2 separate regions of the Homo sapiens genome follow, and region 1 is linked to region 2. Evidence: promoter capture Hi-C in 16 types of primary human blood cells and fetal thymus (Javierre and others, 2016). All regions are on one chromosome and are shown on one strand. The core of a region is centred on a gene start or on the middle of the fragment in contact, and the rest is flanking DNA. Distances in the headings are between cores, read along the strand shown.

Region 1 (3,552 bases), core at 30-2,529, 760 kb after region 2:
AGCCACCGCACCTGGCCTGGTTTTATGTGTTTTATGGCATGAAAATGTTAAAACTCAAAACTATCTAAAATTGAAATTGCTCTTACCCTACATAAGAAATAGAGTAGATCATTATTTCCTATAGTTTTGCGAAGAACGCCACACTGCTGGTGCCCTATTAGCCTGAGTCAGTCCCTTCCAGCCTCTGAATCTATGCTTATTAGATGTTTTCAGGAGTACTGGGCTGTTTGTTTCTAAGACAAACTGCAGTAAGCCTTTACTTAAGTATTACATTGTGCTACATTAAAAATTGCAGGCAGCTTGATGTTTTCTCTTTTTAAAATTAACTCTCCAAATTGATTTCAATGTCCTTAAAGAAACAAGCAAGTCCTTAAAAACAGTATCTTAAAAGCTTACCCATGATAATGTCCTCTAAATATCCAACCACAGCATCAAATTCTGCATCAGAGGCGGAGGAGCTGAAAAACATGCCTGGATTAGGTGCTATTTCAAATAATGCATTAAAAAAATGTTTTTAGTATGGACGTTTTCAAACATGCACAAGAGAAAAAAGAGTAGCAAAACGAACTTCCCATCACCCATCTTCAACGATTAAGAATGACTGACTGATCTAGTAAGTCCAAACAGAAGAAAACACACTCGGCACGTTTGTGACATGAACGTTCAATGTCATGACTCCACTTTAATAAAAACTTGTTCTCCAGGCTCTTAGCTATCACCCCATACCTGTCTGCTTGTGAGCATGAACCCGGCACGGGCGAAACACCTGCCGGGGGGGGTCATTTGGTCAGGAGTCCGGGAGGCGGGGGCCAGGGAGGGGTGGAGGGGCCTCGGGCGCTCAACCCCTCCAGGCTTTGCTGACAGCTGAGGGTTGGCGGCTGGGGATTGTGATGGAGGCGCTGATCAACGGTGACACCCGCCTCGCACTCCTGTCCTGCGGGGCCTGAAACCTGCAGCCTTAGTACTCTACAAAAGGAAGGCCTGGAGCTGGGACGGCGCCTTGGCGGCCCCCACCCTGCCCGGCCCGGCCCGGCCCGGCCCCTAAGGACACCTGTTTTATAGGGTCAGGCCCCGGGGCGAACGCCCGCTGCCTCCGGCCCCAAGTCGCCTGCGCCCTGGAGGAGCTACTCACAAAGACAGCGCAAAGCTCTCTCCTTCTAAGGCGTCCATCGCAGTCGCCCCGAGTAGGCTCCAACCCCGCCCGCGGCCCAACTCGCATGCAGGGCGCGGCCGCCCGGCGGGGTTAAGGCCTCTCAGCCAAGGCCGCGGCCAGCTCACTGCCAGGTCGGGTCAGCGCCTGCGCGCCAGGTCCGGCCTTGGATACCCTCTGCCGCCACGCGTCGGTCCGGCCTCTACGCCCGCCTGGCCCTCTGCGCGCGCCGCCGACGCCGCAGGTCCGGGCCTCGGTGACTGCCGGAGGGGCGCGGCGCCCCGCCTCCTGTCACCATGGCCACCGCAACCCCTTCCACCGCCTCACGGCCGGCCGGCATCCAATCACAGGCGAGCGTTACCGATGCCGGGGCGGGGCAAGACAGGGAGAGGAAGTCCCGGAAGGGAGTGCGGAGGGATGCGGCGCTTCGGCGAGCACCCGTTGTGTGGGAACTCCGTCTCAAGTCGCCCCCATTGTACGGATGAAGGAATCGAAGCCACGAGCCAGAATTTCCTCACTCGCAACTCGAGAATAAATTGCGCCTCCCTGAGTGTGGAGGATTAAATAAGTAGTTTAAGGCGTGTTTAAAGAGCGCTTGTAAGTTGCCAAGTCGCTGGAGAGCCAGTCCCTTATCCCTTGAACCAGGTGATGCTGACGTCTGATTTCAAGACAGTTCCTACCCCTCGTGGAAGGAAAGCCCCATCGCAAGAAGTCGATGTCCTGTAATTTACGTTATAATCTTCGCATCATAAAGATTACTCGGCAGTAATTGGTTTCTTGACTAATTATACAAGATGAGAATTGAAGAACTATTTTGAGCCACGCAATCAGGAATCAGATACCTTTCAGGAAAAGGCCTCTTCAAAACTGCCAAACTTTGAAAAAGGATTCGTTTGAGCTGATTTCTCTTGATTGGACAACTAAGCATTGTGTCTCTTTAGTTGCATGATACCTTATGGCCAAAGTGTGGTATATGACTAGAGGAACTAGAGGGGTTTAAGGTATGAACTGAGGGTCAGGTGGCCAGTCAGAATGGGTTAGCAGACATTTTTTATTTTTTTGAGACGGAGTCTTGCTCTGTCGCCCAGGCTGGAGGGCAGTGGCACGATCTCGGCTGGCTACAACTTCCGCCTCCCAGGTTCAAGCGATTCTCGTGCCTCAGCCTCCCGAGTAGCTAGGATTACAAGTACGTGCCACTATGCCCGGCTATTTTTGAATTTTTAGTAGAGACAGGGTTTCACCATGTTGGCCAGGCTGGTCTCGAACTCCTGACCTCAGATGATCCACCTACCTTGGCCTCCAAAAGGGCTAGGATTACAGGTGTGAGCCACCACAACCGGCCTAGCAGACATCTTTGAATGGACTTAAAATAGATATCCGTGGGATCTGAAACAAAGATGGTTACAAAGACACAGTCGGGTGTGACAGCTGTGACCAAGGTGACATAAATTATTACTAATTTATTTATTTATTGAGATGGAGTTTCGCTCTTACTGCCCGGGCTAGAGTGCAATGGTGCAATCTCGGCTCAACACAACCTCCGCCTACCGGTTTCAAGCGATTCTCCTGCCTCAGCCTCCCGCGTAGCTAGGATTACAGTCATGCGCCACCATGCCTAATTTTTTTGTGTTTTTAGTAGAGATGGGGTTTCTCTATGTTGGTCAGGCTGGTCTTGAACTCCCGACCTCAGGTGATCCGCCCGCCTTGGCCTCCCAAAGTGCTGGGATTACAGGCGTGAGCCACTGCGCTCGGCCTATTTATTTTTTGAGAGGGAGTCTTGCTCTGTTGCCCAGGCTGGAGTGCAGTGGCGCAATCTCGGCTCACTGCAATCTCTGCCTCCCGGGTTTAAGGGATTCTCCTGCCTCAGCCTCCTAAGTAGCTGGGATTACAGGCGCGTGCCACCACACCCGGCTAATTTTTGTATTTTTAGTAGAGACAGGGCTTCACCATGTTGGCCAGCGTGGTCTCGAACTCCTGACCTCTGGTGGTCTGCCCGCCTCGGCCTCCCAAAGTGTTGGGATTACAGGCGTGAGCCACCGCACCCGGTCAGGTGACATCAATTATGAGTTACTCTGTTTAGCACCAAGTGGAAGATAGGCATTTAAAAAGATTTGCTGAATTACTGGACTGAGTTGTTTAGTCAAGCCCTGGTCACACAGCTTACAGCAAACTCAGAGAGTTTCTTCATGACCTACTTTCTCTATATACCACACATTTCTGGACAAAATGAATTTGCCTACCCTTCCTAAGTCATTGATGGAGTGGAGGAGGAACACACCTTGATTTAATCTGTTCTGGTTATCTATTGCTGTTACAAACCACCTGAAAATTTAGTGGCTTAAAACCACCATTTTGCTCACTAATCTGTAATTTGGGCAGGGCCAGCTAGTCTCTATTCCAGT
Region 2 (3,697 bases), core at 260-2,759:
CCTTGGGCAAGTCATGTCCCCTTTCTGGGCCTCAAATGCCTCATCTGAAAGTATATGTCTACCTGATAGAGCAATTGTGGGATCAACTGAGCTACTGCTTGTAAAGCACTCAGCAAAGATAAGGCCTAGCATTTAAGAATCTAAGCCCCAGGAAGTAAGGCCGACGGTTTTGTTCACCACTGAATTACCAGACCCCAGCCTGGCAGGGAGTGGGTGCTCAGTGAATATTTACTGGATGAATGAAAAGGCTCTCCCTACGCTTTAGCAAGTATTACTATCGCAATTGTATTCAAATCAGGAAACGGACCTAGGATGGTACAGGGATGTGTGCCAGGCGATAGAGTGGGCCAGCGCGAGGCTGGACCCGAACCCAGGTCTGGCCTCCCAACTTGGCCCTAGCCAGGTGGGGCCACTCTGGAGCTTTGTCTGGGGTGGGGGGGAGGGGTATATCTTCTGGATCCTCCTTTCTTCCTGCGTCCCCTTTTCCTTCCCAGAGCCGCCCCGCATCCTCCCTCCCCACTCCACCCCCAGACATTCGGGTCCCGTCTGGCTCTAGGGTGAATGCGCGCGCCCTCCGGAGAGACTTCCTCACTCCTCACCGACGGTGGCTCCCATCCCCCGGCCTGGTCCGCATCCCGTCCTCGGACTCATCCTCGGAGCCGCTGCTGCTGTAGCCCACCAGGGGCGCCGCGCTCATGGGGCCTCATCCAAGACCACCAGAGCAGGTCCACCAGCAACCTCAACCGGCACCCGGAGTTCCGCTGTGCCGGAAGCGCCCTCCCAGGGGCGGGGCCTGGGCTGGCACCGCCTCGGGGCGGAGCCGGGAGGGGCGGAACCCGGCAGGACAGTGGTGAAGATTCAGCCCACCGACTCCAAGCTGTCTGCCGGCTGCGCACGCGGATCTGGTCACCTGCAGCCTCCCGGCACCCCGCTGGGACCTCCCCAGCCTTCGTGTACCCATTTCATATATCGCTCAGGGCCCTCACCTTTCTGCCCGCTGCTGTCTGCAGCCACCCGGGACCAGACATACCAGACACGACAGTCCCGGGTCAGCGCACTAGACCCAGCGGAGACCCCTGCCTGCCCCGAGCCCGGCCAGGATCAGAGGTCCTGGAGCCCCCTCCTCAAACCAGCCCAAAGTCCAAGCCCCTAAAAGCCAAGCTGAGCAGTTAGGGGCGGATCAATTGTGGCAGACCAGAGCCTCTAGGAGGCCCCTCCTCTCCTGCGCAGAGCCGGGCCGAGGGCGGTCACCCGGAGCCCCCTCCCCTAAGCCCGAGCGGGGTGGCCGGAAGCAGAGCGCCCTTCCTCGGTTAGTCGAGGCGCCCAGGCCTGGCGACTCGAAAACCGCCCGGAGCACCCGGCTTGTCCGACCTGGCCCGGCCACGGGGTCCCCGGCAGGGGGCGGCCTCGCTCCGCGCCGCCCGCTCCTCCCGCATTGGCCGCCGCCGCCCGGGATGCCGCTCCTCCCCCGGCCCCGCCTCCCTGGCCCCCGCGCCGCCCGCCCGTCCGCCCGTCTCCGCAAGGCCATCGGTCCGTCCGCCCGCCCTCCCGGCGCTCCTCGCCCCGGCCCCGCTACTCCGGCAGCGCGCGTCGCTTCCTCCGTTCCGGCCGCCGCTAGCCCGTCCCCCGCCCCCGGTCCGGCCGCAGCCGCTACGCGAGGCCGGGGATTGGCAGCGCGCGTAGGCCGCGCCGCCGCGGATGGAGCCGGAATAAAGGGGCGGCCGAGAGAGCAGCTGGTCGCCGCTCGCCCCGCGCCTGCCCTGCAGGCGGCCTGGAGCAGGTGAGCGGCGGGGCGCCCGGGGCCGCATCTGGGGGCCACCCCCGCGCCCGCCGCACCCCTTCCTCTGCCGGCCCGGCCGCCCCCCCGCGCCCCTCCGCCGCGACCTAGCGGCCTCTTGAGCTTCTGGGCGGCCCAGGCCGGGCCTCGAGGCGCAGCCGCTTCCTGGGCCCGGCCTGTAGCCCTGGGGCCTTTCTCCAGCCCGGCCGCCCTCGGGGCTCGCCCTCGGGTCGCAGCGGCCGGGCCATCCCGGACGAGGGCTGACAGGACGCAGCCCAGCTGGGCCTGCAGGCAGGGCCGGCGGGAGGTGATCGGCTTTCATTCGGTTTCTCAGGGAGGAAGAAGAGACGGGGTGGGGCGCAGGTGGGGGGCCTCCCCTGCCTCTCCTTGCCTCCTCTCTCCCCTTTGCGGAGTGATCACAGAGGCTTCCTGGCTGCACCTTGCTGCAGGAGGGCCAGGGTGGGCAGGGGGTGCTGCAGACCAAGCCAGGGGACACTGTCTGACAGCCATTCATGCCAGAAAAAGCAAACAAAACAGTGGGTTGGCACAGCGGACCTACAGGCGCTCAGAGAAGCCCACCTTCCCCCTCTCTGTCCCGAGAAGGCTTAGAGTGGTACCTGCTTGCTCAAGCAACCTGCTGCCTCCACCCAGAGCAGCCGCTCCTCTCCTCCCTCCCTTCCGGAAGATGCTGAGGATGACAGCTTTTAGCCTGACTCTTACATTTCTTTGGCAGAGCAGTTAGAGGCCAGACTGTCCTGTGAAGGCTTCTCCTTCCTTCTTCCTCTGCTCAGGAGAAAACTTACAAACTTTTAAATGTAAGAGGCAGATGAGCTGGGAACCTGGAAGTGGGTTGCATCTGACTCTGAAAGTTCCTCCCTCTCGCTGGCATTACCTCATGCTGCCACAAAGTGGTGAGTTAGAGATTTGCCTGGGCTGGGTGGGCTTTACCTTCCAACAATTACCCAGAACTTTATAGGCTTGGAGTAAGGGAATGGAGTTGTCTCTAGAGAGGTGATGAGAAATGCTCTGTGGTTAGCATGCTGCATCCTGCATTGCCAAGGCAGACCAGGGCAGTTTCTTACATTTTCCTGCAGGCCTTGACACTATGAGATTCAGAGGATTTAGGACTTTGTGTGTGTGTGTGTGTGTGTGTGTGTGTGTGTGAGTTCTGGGAGAGAACCAGAGTGAGGAAGTTCTGCTGTGTGGACATCAAGCCTGGGTGGTTCTGTGGCCCTCTCATCTAGCCCCCATCACCTATGGGCTCTGGTTCCTGTAGGGCCACCCATCCTGTCACGCGGAGAGAGAATGGGCCTGTGGTCAGGGATAGTTGAAGGGGTGTGGTCAGTCCCTCATAGGTGAGAGTTTTTGAAATGGTCCTTGGTTCCACGTAGTTGTCCTAAATATTGACTGTCAGAGGCCATTTGCCACTGGGCTCTCAGACCTGGGAGGTCTGGCCTCCTTAGCTCTAAGTGGTGTGGCCCGTATTAAGACTCAGGGTAGCAACAGGAGAGGAGCTGCGGGCCTTAAGGAGGATTCTGTATTGTAGGCAGATAACCCCGGACTCTCACCTGTGAGTCTCAGCTAAAGGGTTGGCAGGAAGCTGGAGGGGACTTGTGGAGGCTGGGATGTCCTGGCCCAGGGGCGGGGCACTGAGGTGGGTGGGGGTGGAGGCCGCTGCCATTTCCTCTGCCTGGAGGAGCTGAGCTGGCTGCAGACCTCTCTGATTGCCTAAGAAGGGAGGAGTCCTGCAGCCCTGAGCACCTCTGCCTTCCCCGATGTGTGGTTTGTGATGGTGTGGTGAGTGCGGGCAGGACAGGGAGAAGGCCCAGGAAACTGCTGCTTGTTCCTTCCTCGAGCTCATACTTTCTCTCTTCTCTACAGAACGGATCACTGGGGAAGGCAGAGTCTCCCCGGCACTGC

Evidence for each region. Contacts are between HindIII fragments. The CHiCAGO score rates a contact against its expected background, and 5 or more counts as called.
Region 1: a contact is called between the fragment with the promoter of ARL2BP here and the fragment with the promoter of ZNF319 in region 2, in 2 of 17 cell types (total B cells and neutrophils). The highest score is 5.1, in total B cells.

Annotation. Positions count from the first base shown.
Region 1 is chr16:57,242,986-57,246,537 of GRCh38, reverse strand. It overlaps ARL2BP (ARF like GTPase 2 binding protein), which reads right to left and starts at 1,279. Exons shown (of 6, transcript NM_012106.4): 1 at 1,133-1,279; 2 at 397-458. The coding sequence starts at 1,170. It overlaps LOC124903697 (a long non-coding RNA gene), which reads left to right. Exons shown (of 2, transcript XR_007065082.1): 2 at 1-723. RefSeq lists silencers at 881-1,090, 1,181-1,560. The HindIII fragment of the contact is 5,456 bases long and covers 394-3,552 here.
Region 2 is chr16:57,998,484-58,002,180 of GRCh38, reverse strand. ZNF319 (zinc finger protein 319) reads left to right here and starts at 1,509. Exons shown (of 2, transcript NM_020807.3): 1 at 1,509-2,688; 2 at 3,659-3,697. It overlaps USB1 (U6 snRNA biogenesis phosphodiesterase 1), which reads right to left and starts at 774. Exons shown (of 7, transcript NM_024598.4): 1 at 600-774. The coding sequence starts at 697. RefSeq lists enhancers at 536-635, 662-956, 1,129-1,298, 2,156-2,425 and silencers at 716-965, 1,256-1,855, 1,906-2,035. The HindIII fragment of the contact is 9,268 bases long and covers 1-3,697 here.